4 separate regions of the Homo sapiens genome follow, and regions 2, 3 and 4 are each linked to region 1. Evidence: promoter capture Hi-C in 16 types of primary human blood cells and fetal thymus (Javierre and others, 2016). All regions are on one chromosome and are shown on one strand. Each heading gives the region's core, a stretch centred on a gene start or on the middle of the fragment in contact. The rest is flanking DNA. Distances are from core to core; before and after follow the strand shown.

Region 1 (5,409 bases), core at 1,555-4,054:
AGAATGTTCAGGGATATGGGAGGAAGAGAAATTTCCCTGATTCCTCTTCAAATCTTTTTGCACAAATGACTGCCTTTCTCTGCACAAATACCTGAACAAAGGGAATTCATCCAGATACTATGGATAGATGAAGATATATCCATCTCATGGATATACTTCATATGGTTCCATTTATTTTACCTCTCTTAACCCAATGAACAACTTTGAAAATGATATTTACCATAAACAAGCAAAGCATTGGCAAAGGATGTTCTCATGTTGAGAATAACAGGATCAAGAGAATAAGTCTACTATGAGGGATCATTAGGAGATGACGTGTGGCTGAGAGTGCTGGTACTTGACACAAAAACGCCAAATGGGAACTAAAGACTAGAAATTTCGAAAAATCAGAATAATGAGTGTGAGTGTGTGAAACAATCATGTGTATTTAATTCATTTATATGATTAAACTTTTGAAAACTGTGTTACTCATCCTATATACGGTATATATATATATATATATATATATATATATATATATGTATACGTTTATTGCAGAAAATGTGTAGAACACAAATAAAAATACCACACAAATATCAATCATAATTACAACCAGTTTAAGACAACTATTGTAAGAGTTTTTACATGTAGCCTCCCGTCTTTTGTTTATGTCTATTCCAGCCTTCTATTACATATACTTCATGAACAGAGGTATAGAGTACATTTTCACAAAATTAAATCAATCATACTACTTATTTTATTTTACATCCTACTTATTTTCATTTAGGATGTTATAAAATATACTCATTGATCTTAAGGTCATTTTTCTGAAAAAAATGTTTTCTCTAGGCATTTGATCAGGTAATATATACAGGTGGTACAACTTCAAAAAAATGAAAGAAAAGTAAAGCCTTCTTTTTACCCCTTTCCTTTTCAATGGTAACCTCTGCCATTAGGGAAAGCTTTTACTAAACCATCATATGTGTTATAAAAAAGGCTAAGATTACTAAAGTGGTTGGCATAGTACCAGGCACAATGTTAAGTGACTTATATAGATTATCTCATCCCCATTTTATCAAGAAAACAAAAACTTAGGTAAGAAATTGGCTCAAGTTTACACAGCAGATAAGTGATGCCACAAGTGCCTAACTCACAACTAAGCAGTTGATACCTGGAACAGATTGCAAATAAATAATTCAGCCTTATCATGTAAGCTGGAGAATATGGATCATTGTGCTCCTGTAGCCTGTGTGACACTGGATGAACCAATCTCAAGGCTCCTGGAACAGAAAACTGCAAACGTGAAACTCTATCACTGTCATCCCATTCTCACTCCTGTCAACATGTCCTTAGATTTGGTTTTACTGGAATGTGCACTTGCAGGACTCTCAGAGGTTATGTGAACATAAGCAAACCATTTTATAAAGGAGACAATCATTTTGATCATTTGGGATCATATGTTTTCTATTTTAGTACTTGATTTTTTTTATTAGCCATATAATCTTTTTCTCACAACGCAAACAAATGGATAACAAACTATGTACTTAAATGTACTTTTCTGGACAAAGATAAGAATCAACTGTGTCACAAAATCATAGATGACATTTATTTATTTTTGTTTTAATTAATTTTTTATTTTATTTTATTTTTTAAGAGAGTGGTTGTTCAGGTTGGCCTTAAACTCCTGGGCTCAAGTGATTCATCCCCCTCAGCCTCCTGAGTAGCTGGAACAACAGGTGTGTACTACCACATCAAGCTGACATATTTAATCTATTTGGCTTACATAGATTTATTAATGTAATATAATGAAATGTGGTTCTGCCCATCTTGAGTCATTAAAATAAGTGTAAGTCTATAAGACCAAGTATATAGAAAATAATTTAAAACCTAATAAAAGGTGCTAAAATAGTATTATCAAGTAACAAATTACAATTCTGATTGTAATTCTAACTTAAAGGATATTTTGTATGAGCTTCAGTTCTGCTGCTTTAGAGAATAATAATGTAAAAATATTGATTTTAGCTACATCTGTAAAGATGGCTCAAAATTAAGCTTGCTTGTGAATGCACCAACTCTCTGTAGGTACAATATAGGATATATGTGTATGGGTGTGTAAATAAATTGGAACATATATATTTACAAACATAGAAACACAAGGGAAAAGCAAACATATGCCATTTATCTGCAGTCTGATCCTGATGATTTTTCTTCCCATGTTTGAACATTTACATTGACTGAATTATTCTTTATCAATTTGATAATATTTGAAGGAAATGTACAAACATGACAAAGATTTATTTTTACTACCTCATTAAAATTATTGACTGATGATTATTGACCAGTCAAAATTATGTTTTTTTTCATGTTACACCCAAAGACATACTCAAATTTATGCTTTTTTATAGGGAAAGTTTTAAGAAAAGTAATTGAGAAAAGGGGGCTCAAGATCTCTGGCTATCACCAAAATTCAATTTGTAAGTGTAGAATAAAATAACTAGGAATATTTTTTAAAAGCTCTAGAAATAGGAATCAAAAGAAAGAAGAATATTTAGGAAATCCAAAGGGATTTAAAGCATAAAAATATGTCCCAATCAGTCTACATGTAATCTAAGGAGGCCTGCAAACTTAATGAGGGGAGTTGCCAATATTGTATCACTTTGGAAATGATGAAATAAGCATTGGTAACTGTATGAATCTAGGAGTCTGGTCAAAAGGACAAGGGCTAAAAGGCTGAACTTGGGTCATGCCCTGCCTATCCCAGGAAGTGCTTACCTATGTCCTGAATCAGAGGGTTTTTCTGTTGACAGCTCTGGATTGTTTGGGTAGATACTGACAGGGCAGATACCGTCCTCACAATACCTGCCCAGAAAGACGAGAAAGAGGAGGAAGAATTCCTCCTTCCACCAGGAATTCTGTGGGAAGCACATAAGATTTCATGCTACTAGTTTATTCCCAAGAGAAGCTACCAAAGCCTGGTAACTCTACCAACTCTAACTTTTGTGCCTGTAAGTTCTCTTCTCCTGGGATTACAACTAATTGAAACAGGAATTCAAAGGAGTCTCGGAGGACTGTAAGAAGAATGCTTCGAGGCCGATCCCTCTCTGTAACATCCCTGGGTGGGCTTCCCCAGTGGGAAGTCGAAGAACTTCCTGTGGAGGAGTTACTGCTCTTTGAAGTTGCTTGGGAAGTGACCAATAAAGGTTTGTACTGCTCCTGAAGGTGGATCAGTACACCTTCACTAGGTGACTGAGGAATGTAGAGTAAGATTTCACAGATAACTCTCTAGTGATAACCAATTGCTAGTGAGTGAGGAAAGCATTTAAACGGAATATATATTTAGGCTACATTTAACCTTGTCTATTACAACAGGCTATGAATACAGACTTGTGTATGTGTTGAAGAGGGAGAAAGTTGAAAATATTAGCCATTGCCATGGAATGTGCATTTAAATTAAAATTTAAAATCCATATTATGACAACATAGAAATAAAAAGTTAATATTTACATTTTTTGTTTTAAAATTTTTCTCAGCAAAATAGTATAATTAAACATTTTATTTTAGGAAGATGTATATGTGATTAGAACCAGTTGGAAACCTCAACTCTACATTCTGTTAGTAATTATATGAAATGCTTAAGAATGTTTCATATTCACAATTAGCTTGGAATTAATGTTTTAATTCAGGAGCTTCTCAAAAGGCAAAATACTGTGCTCCTTTCAGAATGAAAGTAATTTTTTTCTTCAATGCTATGCTTATGTAGGAATTATAAAATAAAGAAAATCAAATTGATAAAACAATTTGCGAGTGAGGTATAACCTCATCTGTGCTGGGTAAGAGAAGGCAAGGTAGAGAACCACAATGTAAATGATTTTGAAAATAAAGACATCTGTAAAATTATAAAACAATTCCTTGTGGGTTTATACTCTCTAGTTTAAAAGTGTCAAGACTATTGAAGGAACATTAGCAAAGAAAAAGTCATGGTTTTGAAGGCTGAGTTCCTCAAGATCTTGAAGAATCAAGCCAACTGATTGCTGGGTAAATGGCAGTGATGACTTGTGTGATTTAAACGATCTGAAATTATGTCATGTGTTGTGATATATAACACATTTATTTTTCATTTTGTGTTTACTATTTCATGTCTATTACAGTAATCTAAAGGATCTGAAATAATAACCAGAATGTGATATATTACTTCCTTCTTTTGGCTAATCAGAGCCAGCATAATCTCAAAATTAAATGCATTATATATGGCATGCATTCTGAAAAATCAGAATTCACCTTATACTAACTGTTCAAAGTTCTCGTGTGTATGCATTCATAAAATCAAAATTAAAAGTCAATTTTGCCTATGTAGAAGTGGACAGAATGCATATAAGAGAACAAAGCACGGTCTTATTCTCTGTAGTTTAGTGAGAAAGAATCTAGGAGGACAGAAACCTTATTACAGAGAAGTGAAGTATTTTATGTGTACCTGTTTCTGTTGTTTCTTTTTAAATTATTTTGTATTCTTTTCCTCAGAGATCTTTATCCTGAAATGAGCATGTGTTTTTAATGTCCTTTTTCTAGTCACAAATTTTTCCAGTCCAGTTTTTAAATATGCCCAAAGTTCCTGGGAACAGAACCATCTCTATCACATGTGAATCCCGGAGTATGCCTTGAAATAAAAGTTTTCTCTAGAGAGTGGGCAGGAGCTCAAGGACATAGCTTATTGGTGGATAAAACTGGAAGGGACTTGTTAGCACTGGGAATCAGTCCAGAAGATCTCTGCACAAGTTCCTGCACCTGAGCAGAGCCCCTTCTGCTTTCCTCTTTTCTCATCATTTAACAAACATTAATGGAGCACTGTTACCTGGGCACTGGGAACACGCCAGTGAAACTAAGTTATTTTATGGATCTTATAATCAGTAGCATGTGTGTTGATCTCAGGGTCTAGAACAGTGCCTGGTACATAGAAAATGCTCAATGGATTTTTTTTTGAAAAAATTTGTTTTTCAACCCCTAAGCTGCCTTTAATACTTATTTTCTATCATTTCCCTTTCAAGGGGAAGGGAAGTGTTTTTGTGGAGAGGTCCCCACAATGTGATTTACACAAGTTGATATCATCTTCAATGTATCTTTATTTTAATATTATCATAGCCTGGTATGGTTTGAGATTTTCATATAGATGGATAATTATTGTGTTTATTCCTAATAATACATTGCCACTATAGTTTCTTTAAATTTAATGATTTGAATTTTTACTTCCCTGCATTTCATAGTAGTGATATGAGGTATCTTAGAGATCATGAATCCCACTCCTCCAGTTCATAGAGCAAATTGATTCGTAGAGGTATTTAATGATCAAGCAAATGGCAGAGTTAGGACCAGGATTTAGGTCTTTTCCAAGGCCAATTCACTTTTTTACTATTATGTAAGAATTAAATATTAAAA
Region 2 (5,426 bases), core at 1,602-4,101, 380 kb before region 1:
TGTTATGTACAGTTTATTATGACCCTAATGAGGTAGGTAGTTCCAGCTGTATTTCTCATATTGGAAAATAGGCTTAATATAAGCCAAGTGTTAAAGAAATAATTACTGGATCATCATACTATATTTATGTAATATATAATACTGAAAATAAGTAAGATTAACATTCATATTGGTAGTCAGGAATATTATTAGGATTGATACAAAGTATGGCTAAATTTATTATTTGATTTAATATAAAGACCTAAAAATGTGTATTATCTAAGAAAAATTTGTAGCTTTTGGCTTTTGACATTTAGTAGAAGTATTAATCATTCAGAAGTAAACTATATATCTTATTACCAAAATAAAAGGCCTAGGTCATATTGTTCTTGAATTTTAAGTGATGGTTTAAATCTTAACATATTTGAGCTAATACATAGAAGTGCTTATTGTCAGAAGTCACTTAAACTCTATAAAGTCCTTGTAATTCCTTATACTGATTCAAGTGGTGCTGATATCACTTTCTTTGCAAGGTTTTATGTCATGAGTGTGTTGATGTGGACAATGGGATGTGATGTACCAACTTAGATTCTTTCCAGCTCCCTGGTGTTACTGCTTTTGTGTAGGACTTGCTAAACTAATAGCTGAGAACAAAAGGCACTGGGAGTTCACCTTTTAACATGAACAATGTCTACTGTTCCCCACTCCCGTAGTATGAGATACCCACCATTGAGTTCATAAAATGATGGGTTCTCACAGCACCCTGAAGGGTAAAAATTGTCACTTTCTTCTTTTTTTTTTGAGATGGAGTCTTGCGATCACTTTCTTGAGAACACAATTTCTAAAGCATTTAACTTCTCCCCCAACCCCTAGATTGAAGGAGGCACTAGATTTATATATTCTAAAATATGAAGGGTTCTAAAAATTGGAGAATGCCACTGACTTTTCATCTGGAGACTCGTGAAGGCAGAAACCCCACTGCCGAGGAGATCCTCTGATGCCAGAAGCCAGCAGAGCATGAGAGTATCACAGTGTTCCTATGAAGATGAGAGCTGAGGGCCACTATATCCCAGTTCCCAGAGTTCACGGAGGCTAGTTCTCAAGATTCCAAGTGAGAGAGCCAAGAGTTGAACAGAGGGACAGGAGCCACTCAGATTGCTCAGGAGAATGTACACAGAGGAAGGTGTGTGCACCACTGATGAGGGGTCAGGGGAAGATAAACGTTGATTAGAAAATTCCATATGCCACCTACATGAAGATCCCACATCCCTAGAGACAACTGACAGACTGAATCTGATTGAGAACACAGACTCCCGTCCCTTTGAAAGCACCCGACTATGACTTTTGTCTTTCACCAGGACCTTCCATTCCAGGGGTCAGACCAGGGATGGCATCAGTGGCAGAAGCTTGTGAGGAGGAACAGGATTGGAGGTAGGCAAAGAAAATCAGTGAGGCGGAGAAGGAGGGCATGGGAAGATGACCTAAATCTGCAGAGTACATGTTTCCATAAGATTAGGTGACAAAACTCAGTGGGTGGGATGGAATTCAGGAAGGACGGAAGCGGTGAGGAATAAGGGTTAAGAGCACAGGCTGCAGAGCTGAACTACCACATTTTGAATCCTGCCTACTCCATGTGCTAGCTATGGGACTTAGAGCAACTCATTGTCCCTGCACCGAGAGTTTTTGAGAAAATTAAATGGATTAGAACAGTGACTTGAATATAAGAGCCATGCAATCCATGTGAGATCTGATGTTGATGGTGATGATGGCACAAGTGGGCACACTGAAAGTAAACTTGACACCAGTTATGGGAAAATACATTCTAAGTTTGTACATAACTAAGTTCCAGTGCTTGATCTACACCTATTTCAGTGTTCCAATAAAGCACCATGTAAAGTTGATTATTAATGAAATGTCCTTTATCAACTGTATAGTGTTTGCAGTTATATATTATATGTTAACTAAAACTGAGCTCATAAAAATAATTACAACCAAAGAGTTGTTGTTTTCAAACCAAATAGAAACATTCTTTACTTTTAAAATTAAATCCCCAAAGGAGATTTAAATTTCCCATCTTGTGTTGAAACAAATGGCCATCATGCGCACTGTTATTTGTAAGATGAAATGTCCACTCTTTTTGCATAGCAACCAGACTATTTGCATCTGGTCCCTGCCTGCCCATCTAACCTCTCATTCTAATGCCACAGTATCCATTCTCTTGAGTTTACACAGAATCTTTGTTCTGCTTGGTGACACACACACACACACACACACACACACACACCCCTTTGCTTCAGGCAAATGTTTTCCTCAAATATAATTGAGGAGACACCTTCCATGAATCCCCTATTCATGCATTCATTCTTTTACCTAATAGCTCTTGAACACATAATTGTTTTAGGTATCATTCCATGCCCTCAGAGTAAAGGTGACAAACAAGATAGACAAGGTCTCTTCTCTCAAAGATGTGGCACACTAGTGCAAAGAAACGTAATAAATAGGAAAACAGGAAAATAAGTAACATTGGCATTTATATTGGTGGTCAGGGAAGACCTTACTGAGTGAAAATTTGCCAGCTACTAGAACATACATTCCATAATTACAGATATTTTTGTTTATTCTGTTCACTGCTGTATCTCTACTGTCAGGAACATCACTGATTTTCAGTAAACACTTTTTTAATGCAAATGTGAATGCAACAAAGAAGTTTGTGATGAATGCAAAAACAGAGCAGAGTGCTCCAGGCAGAGAAAAGAGCAAGTGCAAAGGTCTTAAATAGGTGGAAGGAGGTTGGCATGTTTGAGGAAAAGAAAGAGAAGAGGAGAGAGAGAGGAAGAGTAGAAGGAAGTGGGGTTAGACAGGGAGACAGGACTCGGCACGAAGGACTCTAGGAAGCCGCTGCGCACAGGAGGAAACTTGAACATACTCTCCTCACAAGTTATCATGTTGTGCTATAATTTCTTGATCTACCCTATTGAGTGTGTTTTTTTCACTTTGTTATTATTATTTGCTCTTTATTTTTTTTTGTAAGCCGCTTTCGTTGGGTTTACAATTTTTTCACTCCTGATTTTGATGTTTAGATAACCCATTTTTAATATTTCCTCATCTGTAATATGTGAACATACACTATAAAATTCATCTAAGGATTGCTTCAACTTTATTCTGTGTTTTGATGTGCAGTGTTTTTGTAAAACATGAAGTATGTTTTTATCATAATTAAGATTTCTTCTTTGAGGTTGGGCGCGGTGGCTCACACCGGTAATCTCAGCACTTTGAGAGGTCAAGGTGGGAGGATCACTTGAGTCCAGGAGTTTGAGACCAGCCTGAGAAACATAGAAAGACCATGTCTCTACAAAAAAAAAAAACCTTAAAAGTTAGCCAGGTGTGGTGGTATGCCTGTAGTCCTAGCTACTTGGGGGACTGAAGCAGGAGGATCACTTGAGCCCAGGAGTTCAAAGTGGCAGTGAACTATGATCACACCAGTGCACTCCAGGCTGGGTGACAGAGTGAGATCCAGACTCTAGGGAAAAAAAAAAAAAAAGATTTCTTTGACAATTAAAGTTTTAAAAGTGTACTTTTAAATCTCCAAGTATATGGACTCTTAATTACCTTGGTTTAATTTTTAATTTTGTTATGGTAAGAAAATGTGCTTCTGCAAGATATATAAATTCTGTGGCACTTGTTGAGATTTGCTTTGTAGCCTAATATGAAGTCAACTTTTATACAGTCATGCTTTACTTAACAATAGAGATGCATTCTGAGAAATTCATCCGTAGCTGATTTTCTAATTGTGTGAACATCGTAGAGTGATCTTCCACAAACCTAGATAGTGTAGCGTCTTACACACCTAAGCTATATGCTATAGTCTATTTCTCCTAGGCTACAAATCTGCACAGCATATTATTATACTGAATACTGTAGGTAATTGTAACACAATGGTAAGTACTAATGTATGTAAACATATCTAAAATAGAAAAAGTACACTAAAAATACAGTATAAAACATAAAAACCGGTAGACCTATTTAGGGCACTTATCATGAATGGAGCTTGCAGGACTGGATTTGCTCTGGGTGAGTCAGTGAATGAGTGATGAGTGAATGTGAAAGCCTAGGACATTATTGTATACTACCGCAGACTTTATAAACACTGTACATTTAGGCTGTACTAAATTTATTTTTTAAATTGTTTCTTCAATAGTAAATTAATCTTAGCTGACTTTTTTACTTTTACAAACTTTTCAATCTTTTTTTAACTTTTTGACTCTTTTGCAATGATACTTAAAATACATTGTATAGCTATACAAAACTATTTTCTTTCTTTATACCTTTAAAAGCTTTTCCTATTTTAAAATTTATTTTACTTTTAAAACTTTTTGGCTAAAAACTAAGACAAAAACACACACATTAGCCTAGGCCTACACAGCATCAGGAGCATCAATATAACTGTCTGCCACCTCCACATCGTGCCCCACTGGAAGACCCATTGGAAGGTCTTTAGGAGCAATAACACCCATGTCATCTTCTATGATAACAATGCCTGCTTCTGGAATAAGAAGGAAGTTCTGAAGGAATTGCCTAAGGATATTTTACAATTAGCTTTTTTTTTTAATAAGAAGAAGTACACTTTGAAGTAACTATAAAAAGTATAGTAAATATATAAACCAGCAAGTCATTTATTATCACTATCAACTATTATGTACTGTACATAATTGTATGTGCTATACTTTTATAGGACTGGCAGTGCAGTAGGTTTACACCAGTATCACCACAAACAGGTCAGTAATGCCTTGTGTTATGATGTTACAATGGCTTCAATGTCACAAGGTGTCACTAGGTGATAGTAATTTTTCAGCTGTATTCTAATCTTATGAAACCATCTTCAAATATGCAATCTGTCATTGACCAAAATGTTGTTATGTGGAGTATGACTGTATATATCCTTTCTGTACTTCAAATAATGTTTCTTTATGTGCAATATAGAAATCAAGTATGTGAACTGTTGTTCAAATCACCTCTTGACTCATTTTTTATCTGTTCTATCAATTACTGAAGGAACTGTTCTAGAGTTTATAATCATGATTGTAGACTTGTCACTTTCTCCTGGTAATTGTGTCAGTTTTTGCTTTTCATATTATTGTAATTTATATATTGTCAGGTGCATATACAGATTTAGAATTAACGTATTTTTCTAATGAATAGCTCCTTTTATCATGGTGTAACAACCCTGTTTACAAATAACAATGCTTCCTCCCACCCAATTGTCTATTTTGTCGCTGCCACTATCACCTGATTAGCGGGCCCACACATATCATTCTGTTTTTCTACTTCCTGTATTTTACTTTGTGTCCTTTCTTCTCTCTTCCTATTGGATAAATGATGATTTTTCAAAATCTCCTTTTATTGTAATTGCACGGTGAGAATGTCAGAGACGTCTAAACCAGAGTGAC
Region 3 (5,194 bases), core at 1,129-3,628, 460 kb before region 1:
ATTTGTCTCATTTCTTTCCTGGAATTGGAATTTGGAGGAAAAAGTATGTACATTCAATTAGCAGCAAAAACTATTCAGAGTGTAATTCATATGTACTAGAAATTCTGCTAAGTGCTTTACTCATATTATTTTATTAATCCCTTCCAGAGCCCTACGGTAATAGGTACTCTCGATATCTCCAGTTTACAGATGAGGAAACAACATTCATCTTATCACAACTGGCTAATCAGTGGTACAGTCTGACTTCACAGCTTGTGCTAATAATCATTCTACATTTGATACCTATTATCAAACTAACCTCCAGAAAGACTGTCCCAGTTTAACAGTTTGATCAGCAGTGTTTGTTAAAAGAGTTCCTATTTCCCTACAATCATACCCATTTGGAGGATGTGCTTTGTCATTTCTTTAAAAATAAGTAAATAATTAATTCCTGGTCCATTTTACTATGGGTGAATAAAAAGATACCAACCAAGATATGCCACTTCTTTCCAGCACAGGCCCATTTCTTTTCTCCATTCATCTACAACTGCTAGCTTGTCTGATACACTGACTTCCATTTTGCAATCCAGTTTTAAAGAAGACAGCGTCTGCTTTGAACAGGCCCTTTCTGAGATTAGCCTCACCTTAAAAAAAAAAAAAAAAAGGATTGGAGGAAGAAGGGAAAAATTAAAAAGTGAAGAAAACAGAAATCTTTCATAATAATTGACCTTGTAGACAGTCCAAATCACAAACGAGTCATCTTTTGACTTTCTGAAGGTCCAAGTAAGAAAACTGACTGTCGAATTAAAATCATGATGCTTTAAAACAAAGCTCATTTTATTTCTCATAGCCCAATAAAGGTGAGACACAGTATTTTATTTTCTACAATAGAAAGGATTCTATCTACAGGTAAAAATTACAACATATATTGTCTGATACTACTCTAAGATTCTCCTATAATTCAATTTATCCAGAGGAAAGTCTATAACCTCTCTCTTGTGCTGCTTAGCAATACATATTTAGGATTTCTGGTAAATTATAATTATCTTAGCTAGCTTTCATTTAAAAAAATACACTTAAACGTTAAGTTATTTTGAATCAAAAATGTCATTCATAAGAATAAGCTAGATTTTAAAAATCCACAGGATATCGTCCTTTTCTAAAATGGTACACCTATTATCTAGGGAATCTTTCTTGCTGCAAGATCCTTTGGGAAACATTAGATAGCTCCCATTTAAAAGTAGTTATGTTTATATTTACTGAATAAACAAGAAATATTATTTGCTGATTAACAAATTCCTAATTCTACTCATCTAAAACTAAATAGTATAATAATTTTCTAGGCGTATGAAGGCCAAATTTCAGATATTTTAAGAGTTAATACTAAAAATTTAAATCTCTTAATTCCTTGCATGTTCTTTGACCCTGAATCAAAATATTATAAAATACTGCTATATTCAGGGAGCACATACCTCAATACCACTTTTCTTTAATAAACTTATCCCAATAGCATCTTTTACATCATAAGATATTATTTCTTTTTGGTCTCCTGATACATAAATGTGGCCATTGGTGAGACATCCATCAATATTGCAAACCAAAAGTTTTATTTCCTTAAGCTTCTCTTTGCCAAAATAGCCATATCTAAAAGAAACCAAAATAGACCTTTGAGTACAAGTGCAGTACTAATCACTCCCTCTCATCTGGCTAAACCAATACATGAAATGTCACCCTCCATTCAATTATTCAAACATTACTCTCCAAATTTACTTCACATATATATTTTAACATATAGTACAGTAAGTAAAAGTAGTGTGGTCTAGCCAGATAATGTTTCTCACTTTATTGAAGCCATGTAAACACATATTTTACATGTCTTCCTCACATGAACAAAGTAATTACAAAGATCCTAAGATGTCTGAAGTATCAGAAATCAGTATCTAGAAATATAATTATTAAGATTTAGTACAAAGGTTATAAAGGTTTATTTGTTTTTACCTTAATACTCTTTGCTCTGCAATAGGCCAATCAATATCCACATCTATATCCACACTATGTTCAGCTCGCATTTCGTAGTATGCCATTTTTCCACCCTAAAGGTAGTATAAATGTCATGAATACTGTTTTTAATATTCATTCACATATATCAAAACTTTATTATAATACAGAACAATGAATTCATTTCTACAGTACTGAGAAAAATGAATAACCCAGTAAAAATCAGTCACATAAAAATGATTTTTAAATTTATTTTTACTTTTTTATTTTTTCGAGTCAGGGTTTCACTCTGCCTCCCAGGCTGGAGTGCAATGGTGCAATCATAGCTCATTATAACCTTGAAATCTTAGGCTCAAGCAATCCTCCCACCTCAGCCTCCTAAGGATCTGGTACTACAGGTATACAGCACCATGTCCGGCTAAATTTTTAAAAAGTTTTTTGTAGATATAAGATCTTGCTATGTTGCCAAGGCTGGTCTTGGAAACCTGGCCTCAAGCTATCCTCTTGAGGCCTCAAGCTGGCCTCTCAAAGTGCTGGGATGACATGCTTCAGCCACCACGCCCAGCTTTTTTTTTTTTTTTTTTTTTTTTTTTAAGGAGAAAGCTCACACAAAAGAAATAACCTTAACATTTTTCAAATTCTATCTAAACAGTTCAAGTTCCCTATTTAAGAAAATTTCTATTTTAATATTGAAAAAAGCAGAAATATTACATCCTCCAGGTTTCTGACCACAAGGGATTTTGTGGAAATCCCTTAATCATATCCTCCTTTTTTTCAAGAAGTCTCTCCTGTCATCATCCAAAAGCAGTATTAAGGTTTTTGGAACTTCTGTTCTAATTTGCAACTAACAGGCAACACAGGGGAGGAAAAATAACTGTAGCATCTGTTGTACAGAGTTTTCTTAGATCTCTGAGCTACTGATGAAAATGACTAATAGTCATCCAAGTCACATGCAGGCAAAGGCAAGGGCAGTCTCTTGATTCTAGGCAAGGGTCAGCAAGAGAAAGGGTCTTTCTTCTGATAGTAATTATTTGAATGACAAGATCAATTACTGGACAATTTCAATTTCATTTTTTTTTTCAGAATTGTCAGTCTCTTCATAAACCTTGTTTTAATGAGAAACATTTTTCTCCACACTTTAGGAATGGGTTAATCATGGTCCTCCTTAGAAAAAAGCTTAAAAATGGTAGTATCTATGTGTGTCAAATCCAATTTTTCTGAACACTTAAATTTAACTAAACAGCTAGTCTATAGTTTGCCTACACATTGACCAGAAGATTTGTAAAAATGTTTTTCTCTCTTTTGCTCAGAATAATAGTCCCATTAGAATTTTTATTACACAATGGAGAGGTTTCTCTCTCTCTCTTTAAAACCGCTATTTCTTGAGTAACATAAGAACCTGAATCCAAATCCTGACAGTACCATTTATTAGCTGTTTTTGCCTTGAGTCAATTACTTCATATTTCAGTGAGGCAGTTTTCCTCCTCTGTAAAACTGGGTAGAAATGTCCACTTCATTCATTCGCTATGCAGATTACATAAGATAACATATGCAAAGTGTTTCACCTACTCCGAAGTACACAGTAAATAATAAATAATAATGATAACTAAAATTAACAAGTTAAGAAATATATGATGCAACCATGTTGCAGGCTCTAAAATGAGAGAGACATTAAATCTGTTATTTGAAAATGAGAGTCAGGACAGATAAAATGATACATATTCAAGCTTACATAGTAAGAGGCAGTTGACTTAAAGTATAATAAAAAAAAAAAAAAATATATATATATATATATATAAAAAGATTCCGGGTTTCCTGACACCCAGGTTGTAACTCTTTTCACCTCTATGAAATTATTTGTCTTTTTAAAGCAATAGAAGTTATTCAACCCTACAGCCACAATATAACTATAACACAAACATGGATTACGTAGTTTTGAGTGGAATAATATGAGTACCAGGACATGTGTAGACACCCAGTACTTGATTCATTTTTTTATCGTTGTAGCAGAATTCCTTGCATATTTACTGAATGGATTCCAAAGATCACTTTGGGGTAAACCTGCAGGATAAATGCCTCAGATAGCAAATGTTGTTGGCTATTACCTTTCCTCTATAGGTTGATACTTTTCTTTATCATAAAGAAATTGTACCATACTTCTTCCCTAGAACTCAAAGTATGCCTACAAAAGCGCTTAAAAGGGTTATGCAAAATGAAGGTACAAACCTGCAAGTAACCCATCTCTATCAAATGTCTTTTAGCAAAATAAAATGAGCCATTTTCATATAATTCTCCATCCCAGTCTTGTCGACGAGGCCGTTTAGCTGGATTTAAATTCAGAGGTTCGGTCACTTCACGAACTAAAAGCAAAAAGTTAGAGTAAGTCCACGTTGCCCTGAATATAGAAAGTGTTAATTTAGTAACTAAAAAAGTTAATAAAAATGAACTCAGAATGCAGAGCATTTCTTTATCTAGATAAAGAACTTTTCTTTTTTTTTTTTTGAGACAGAGTCTCGCTCTGTCACCCAGGCTGGAGTGCAATGGTGCGATCTTGGCTCACTGCAACCTCCGCCTCCTGGGTTCAAGCGATTCTCCTGCCTCAGCCTCCCAAGTAGCTGGGACTACAGGCATGCACCACCACACCTGGCTAATTTTTGTATTTTTAGTGGAGATGGGGTTTCACCATGTTGTCCGGGCTGGTCTCGAACTCCTGACCTCGTGATCCGCCCACCTCGGCCTCCCAAAGTGCTGGAATTACAGGCATGAGGCACTGCACCCGGCCTGATAAAGAACTTTTTTTAGGCTGAATGTGGTGATTCACGCCTGTAATCCCAGCACTGTGGAGGCCAAGGCGGGCGGATCACTTGAGGTCAGGAGTTCGAGAGCAGCCCAGCCAACATAGTGAAACGCCATCTCCACTAAAAACACAAATTTAGCCGGGCATGGTGGTGGGTACCTGTAATCCCAGCTACTTGGGAGGCTGAGGCAGGAGAATCGCTTGAACCCGGGGGGGGGAGATTGCAGTGAGCCGAGATTGCGCCACTGTACTCCATCCAGCCTGGGCAACAGAGTGAGACTCTGTCTCAAAAAAAAAAAAAAGAACTTTTTTAAAGGAATAAAATCTGTAATAATTCTGATGATTTATCTTTGCTTTCCAATAGCTACTAGAAAACTAAAGTATTTTATAATGAAATGTGGAACAATTAAGGTATTCATA
Region 4 (5,321 bases), core at 637-3,136, 480 kb before region 1:
TTCTAGTTTAAGATCCAGCTCAAATTTCACCTCCACTTGAAAAGATTTTTCTGCTTCAAGCCCTTTAAGGGTCTCTCTCTACCCTTATTTTCAGGATAAAGCAAAAATGTCTTAATGTAACTCACAAAAACCAGTACAATCTGGCCTCTGTTTATTCACCTCGCCAGACTCATATCATCCCATTCCCCTATATTTGTTTGCCGAGGTGGTGAGCTTGTGCCTTATTTGGCTTTTTATTAGGTTGGGGCAAAAGTAATTGTGGTTTTTGCCATTAACCACAATCACATTTGCACCAACCTAACAATTTCAGGAAATGTAATAATCTTTGACATGCTAAATGCTATTCATTGTTAAATTGAGAAAAGGTAAACAATCTTCACAAATAAAATTACTTACTTTTGATAGCTCTTCCCCTTCAATGAATCATGGTTTAATACAGAGTATTGGCTGGGTGCAGTGGCTCATGCCTCTGCTCCCAGCTCTTCAGGAGGCCAAGGCGGATGGATGGCTCCAGCACAGGAGTTCAAGACCAGCCTGGTAATGTAGTGAGACCTCATCTCTACAAATAAATACATACATAATAATAAAGAATATTTCTTTTCTAAGTTCACTGATGTACTAAGAAATTTAAGACTTCTGCACTATAATTTGTAGCCAATCATCCCCAGAGCCTTAAATGCTCATGTTAATCATAAATATGATATATGTTTCTTCTATGTGAAATATTTCTTCTAAGTAAAACATTAGTACATTTGCATCTGTAGAATTAGAAGGGACAATTAAAAGGGACAATAGAGATCATCTATTATAAGCGCCTCAGATTATAGTCAAATAAACTGGCTTGTGGGTGTTAAATGTCTTGAAAAGCATACCTTAGCTAGTTCGTGACAATGTTGAAGCTAGAAACTAAGTTCATTTATTGCCAATAATAATAAACATTTAGAGGCCCTACACGAGCCAGGTACTCCTCTAGACATGCTATATATATTATCTCATTGAATCTTCACAATCCTGTGAGGTGATACTGTTATTATCTTCAATTAGAGCAAAGAAGCTTAGCCACGGAAAGGTTGGCTAAACTTGTCCAAATTCCAAAATGCAAAATAATTAGAATAAAAACCCTCAAAAAGATCTTTCTCTTTTCACCTTCTCAAATTTCCAAACCCAGATGTATCAACATATATAATGCATTAAAAATTAAACTCCTTCCATTAGAAAGTAGACTCCATCTTCTGACCCCTTGATCTGAGCTGGATGGTCAGTAACTTGACTCACTTTGACCAGTAAAATTGAGGCTGAAGTAACATTGTGTGACTTCTGGGGAAGTTATCAAAAAGTGTTGCAGCATCCAATCTCACCTTCCAGCTGCTCAGAGACTGTCACGTTAAGACACTTAAACTAGTTTCCTTAAAGTTGAAAGACTGCAAGAAGAGAACAGCCCAGACACCAGTAGATATATGTGAGGGAAATTGACTTGGACTGTTCATCGATTCCCACCATCAACTGACTGCAACCACAGAGTGAGACCATGAAAACAACTCTACTTACCTTAGCCCAAATTGTTGATCCACAGAATTATGAAAAAGTAGTTATTTTTTCAAGTAAACGTGCTTTGAAGCTATTTGTTATATAGTAATTGATAATTGACAGAGCATATGATACTGTCGTTTGATCGATTTACCATGGAATTTCTCTTCCTATCATTTTGTTTTTAACTTTTCTGAGTCTTTAAATTTAAAGTAGGTTTGTGGTAGCCAGCACACAGGTAAGTCTAGTTTTTTTTTTTAATTTAATTCAACCTGACAGTCTCTGGTGTGTTTAGAACATTCATATTTAAAGGGATTATTGATATAGTTGCATTAAAATTTACCATCTTTGTAATTGTTTTCTGTTCATTGCATTTGTTCTTTATTTCTTTCTCCTGCTGTTTTTCTGACTTCTCTGGGGTTAATTAAGCATTTTGTATGATTTGATTTTATATCTTTACTTGGTATATCATATATCTTTTATAAAAAATTTAGTAATATCCCTAGGGTTTACAATATATATTTTAAAATAAGTCCACCTTCAAATAACATTATATAACTTTATAAGACTACTCCCGATTCATTCCTCCCATTCCTTGTGACATTGGTGTCAATTATTTCACTTGTCCATATGCTATAGTCACCCTATACATTGTTACTATTATTACTTTAAATAGCTATCTTTTAGATCAATTAAAAATATTATTTTAATTTCACTTGTTCCTTTTCTAATGCTTTTCTTTGTATAATTTTTGACCTATATCATTTTTTTTTCTCTCTGAAGAATATCTTTAACATTTTTGCAGGGCAGGTCTGCTGGCAATGAAATCCCTCAGTTTTCTCCACAAAAGGCTTTATTTTTCACCGTTGAAGGAAAATTTTGCTGAATATAGAAATATAGGTTGACAGGGTTTGTTTCAGCATTTCAAAGATTTCACCTCACTCTTCTTGCTCACGTGTTTCTGAAGCCAAATCTGATATAATCTGTATCCTTAGTTCTGGTTTGTTTTTTTTTTTTTCTCCTTCTGGCTTCCTTCAAGATTTTCTTTGTCTTTGATTTGCTGCAGTTTGAATATGAAATGCCTGGTTGTAGGATTTTATTTTTAATTGTTTGTTTTGGACTTCTCTGAGCTTCCTGGATTTGTAGTTTGATGATACCGTTATTATCTTCAATTAGAGCCAGGAAGCTTAGCCACAGAAAGGTTGGCTTTGGTGTTTGTCATTAGTTTTGGGAGTTCTTAGCCATGTATTATTTCAAATATTTCTTCTGTCCTGTTCTATTTCTTATGCTTCTGGTATTCAGTTATACCTTTTGATATTGGCCCACAGTTCTTGCATATTGTATTCTTTTTTAAAATTTATTTTCCTTCTGTTTTTCAGTTTGGGAACTTTTAAAATTGAGCAATATTCTGGCCGGGCGCAGTGGCTCACGCCTGTAACCCAGCACTTTGGGAGGCCGAGGCGGGTGGATCACGAGGTCAGGAGTTCGAGACCAGCTGACCAACATGGTGAAACCCCGTCTCTACTAAAAATACAAAAATTAGCCAGGCATGGTGGTGCGTGCCTGTAATCCCAGTTACTTGGGAGGCTGAGGCAGGAGAATCACTTGAACCTGGGAGGTGGAGGTTGCAGTGAGCCAAGATCACGCCACTGCACTCCAGCCTGGGCAACAGAGTGAGACCCCGTTTCAGAAAAAAAAAAAAAAAATTTGACCAATATTCAAGTTTACCTATTCTTTCCTTAGCTATCTCAAGTCTACTGATAAACCACCAAAAGGCATTCCTCATTTCTGCTACTGTTTCTTTGATTTCTAGCATTTCCTTTTGATTCTTTCTCATAGTTTCTGTCTGTATTGACATTATCTATCTGATTTTGCATGTTGTGTACTTTTTTCCATCCCTTTTTTTATTAATCATAGTGTAACTGTGTACCCTCATTTTTCTAAGAGATAGTTTTTTACTATCTTTCTTCTTCTCGCTCTCCTTCTTTTCCCCACTTCCTACTTAGGTCTTTAGAAATGCAGTTATAGCCTTTACCTCCTCTTCACCAGACACTCCCTAGAGGGCAAGTTTATTTAACTAGGTTGTTAGAAGCTCCAGAGTGAAACTCTCCTACCAGGAGGCTGCCTAAAGAAACAACAGTCCATCTACTACCTAAAGTATTTCCACTGTGAAACTCTCTCCCACCTGGAGAATTTTCTGCTGCTTTTACAACCTAGTCTTGTCCACAAAGGGACCAGCAGTTACCAGCTTGACCACCCGGTAGATAAGGCACCGAGGCTAGTATGCAGACCCCCCACCTGCTCACTGACTCCTCTGCATGTCATTCATGCCAGCATGCTGGGCCCCCTTTAAAAGCACCCCACTTTCTGCTCCAAAAGTGAGGTGGTACCCATAAAGACAAGATCCTGCTCCTCTTCCCCTAAGCAAGCTTTGGAATAAAATGTCACTTTCTTTATACCTTGCTCCTGTTAATTGGAGTGACTGGACTTGTGTTTTGGTTACAAAATGTGGAGTGGGGAGTGACTGGACTTGTGTTTTGGTTACAATTTTTGTGGCTCATATGGGGAAGTACTTCATGCCCTGGGTGAGCTAACTTTGTCAGCCCAGTTTCACTACCAGGTGAGGTGTGGGGTCACCTGTGAGTGCCAGCTGCTCATGGCTAGCAGACCCCATAATGGGAACATTAGGAAACTTCCCAGAAGCTGCCAAAAATGAATTTGTTTTGGGGGAAGCTCCCTTTTGCCTCATGGCATGACAACTGCTGCCTTTGGTGCTTCACTGGTACAAGCAAAATGGCCTCTTAAGACGCTGACAAACTTTGAAACTGAGTGAGTAGTTGGAGTGTACCCAAACTGGGTGGCCTTGCCCTATTTAAGACTTGGCTCTTTTGGGGTGTCGCTGGGGCCGTGCTATATATATATTATTTTTTTTTTTGAGATGGAGTCTTGCTCAGCTGCCCAGGCTGGAGTGCAGTGGCCCAGTCTCGGCTCACTGCAACCACCATCTCCCAGGTTCAAGCGATTCTCCCGTCTCAGCCTCCCAAGTAGCTGGGATTACAGGCACCCGCCATCATGCCCCACTAATTTTTGTATTTTAGAAGAGATAGGGTTTCTCCATGTTGATCAGGCTGGTCTTGAACTCCTGACCTCAGGTGATCCGCCCACCTTGGCCTCCCAAAGTGCTGGGATTACAGGCATGAGCCACCGCGCCTGGCCCAAGGCCCTACTGTATTTAAGACCTGGCTGCTAGTGATAGCATTTGAGCATTTTATGCATTTGTATTTATTTGAATATGAAGTTCCATAGGAACTTGGCTCAGACTCAGCTTCCTGTGGAGCCATTTGGAACTGGGGCGGGGGATTCAGGACCTCACCCAGACCCTTGACTGGGGACTCATTTGGAAGCACACCATTTGCATGTGTGAATGAATGACTTTTTGTATGGGCCCTATTGCCTTTCTTTGCTCTCTACCTCCCATTTCACCCTCCTGACTATCTCGGAGAGCTGCCCACCTAGGGTGCTGAGACTCTCCCTGATAAATGAGAAGGGCGGGCCTGGTGCCCCCACACTGTGTAATGGTTGGAAGGTTCCCAAGGTTCCATCTGGTCACTTTACCTTTTTTTTTCTTCTCCTCCTTTCTTTCTCACACCCCACTTGTGAAACCTGGCTCCCATGCCCAGTACGAACTTCACCGGGGCATAGGCCTGGCTCCTGTGCAGGCTGTCTTTCCCTCTCTCTTCTTTTCTCCCTACTTTAAATATGCTGTTACTAAGCTGCTGGTGCTGAGATAGGAC

The links. Contacts are between HindIII fragments. The CHiCAGO score rates a contact against its expected background, and 5 or more counts as called.
Region 2: a contact is called between a fragment that was not itself captured here and the fragment with the promoter of GYS2 in region 1, in 2 of 17 cell types (naive CD4 T cells and total CD4 T cells). The highest score is 5.9, in naive CD4 T cells.
Region 3: a contact is called between a fragment that was not itself captured here and the fragment with the promoter of GYS2 in region 1, in 3 of 17 cell types (total CD8 T cells, total CD4 T cells and naive CD4 T cells). The highest score is 5.5, in total CD8 T cells.
Region 4: a contact is called between a fragment that was not itself captured here and the fragment with the promoter of GYS2 in region 1, in 1 of 17 cell types (naive CD4 T cells). The highest score is 5.0, in naive CD4 T cells.

The regions. Positions count from the first base shown.
Region 1 is chr12:21,602,242-21,607,650 of GRCh38, reverse strand. GYS2 (glycogen synthase 2) reads left to right here and starts at 2,804. Exons shown (of 16, transcript NM_021957.4): 1 at 2,804-3,179. The coding sequence starts at 3,059. The HindIII fragment of the contact is 12,472 bases long and covers 2,034-5,409 here.
Region 2 is chr12:21,983,988-21,989,413 of GRCh38, reverse strand. No RefSeq gene overlaps it. Among named protein-coding and RNA genes, the nearest start is that of ABCC9, 45 kb to the right of the region's middle. The HindIII fragment of the contact is 2,928 bases long and covers 1,388-4,315 here.
Region 3 is chr12:22,057,710-22,062,903 of GRCh38, reverse strand. CMAS (cytidine monophosphate N-acetylneuraminic acid synthetase) reads right to left here. Exons shown (of 8, transcript NM_018686.6): 4 at 4,204-4,337; 5 at 1,978-2,072; 6 at 1,452-1,623; 7 at 470-623. Among named protein-coding and RNA genes, the nearest start is that of CMAS, 14 kb to the right of the region's middle. The HindIII fragment of the contact is 1,555 bases long and covers 1,601-3,155 here.
Region 4 is chr12:22,076,562-22,081,882 of GRCh38, reverse strand. All of the region lies in intron 1 of LOC105369690 (a long non-coding RNA gene), which reads left to right. Among named protein-coding and RNA genes, the nearest start is that of CMAS, 33 kb to the right of the region's middle. The HindIII fragment of the contact is 1,659 bases long and covers 1,057-2,715 here.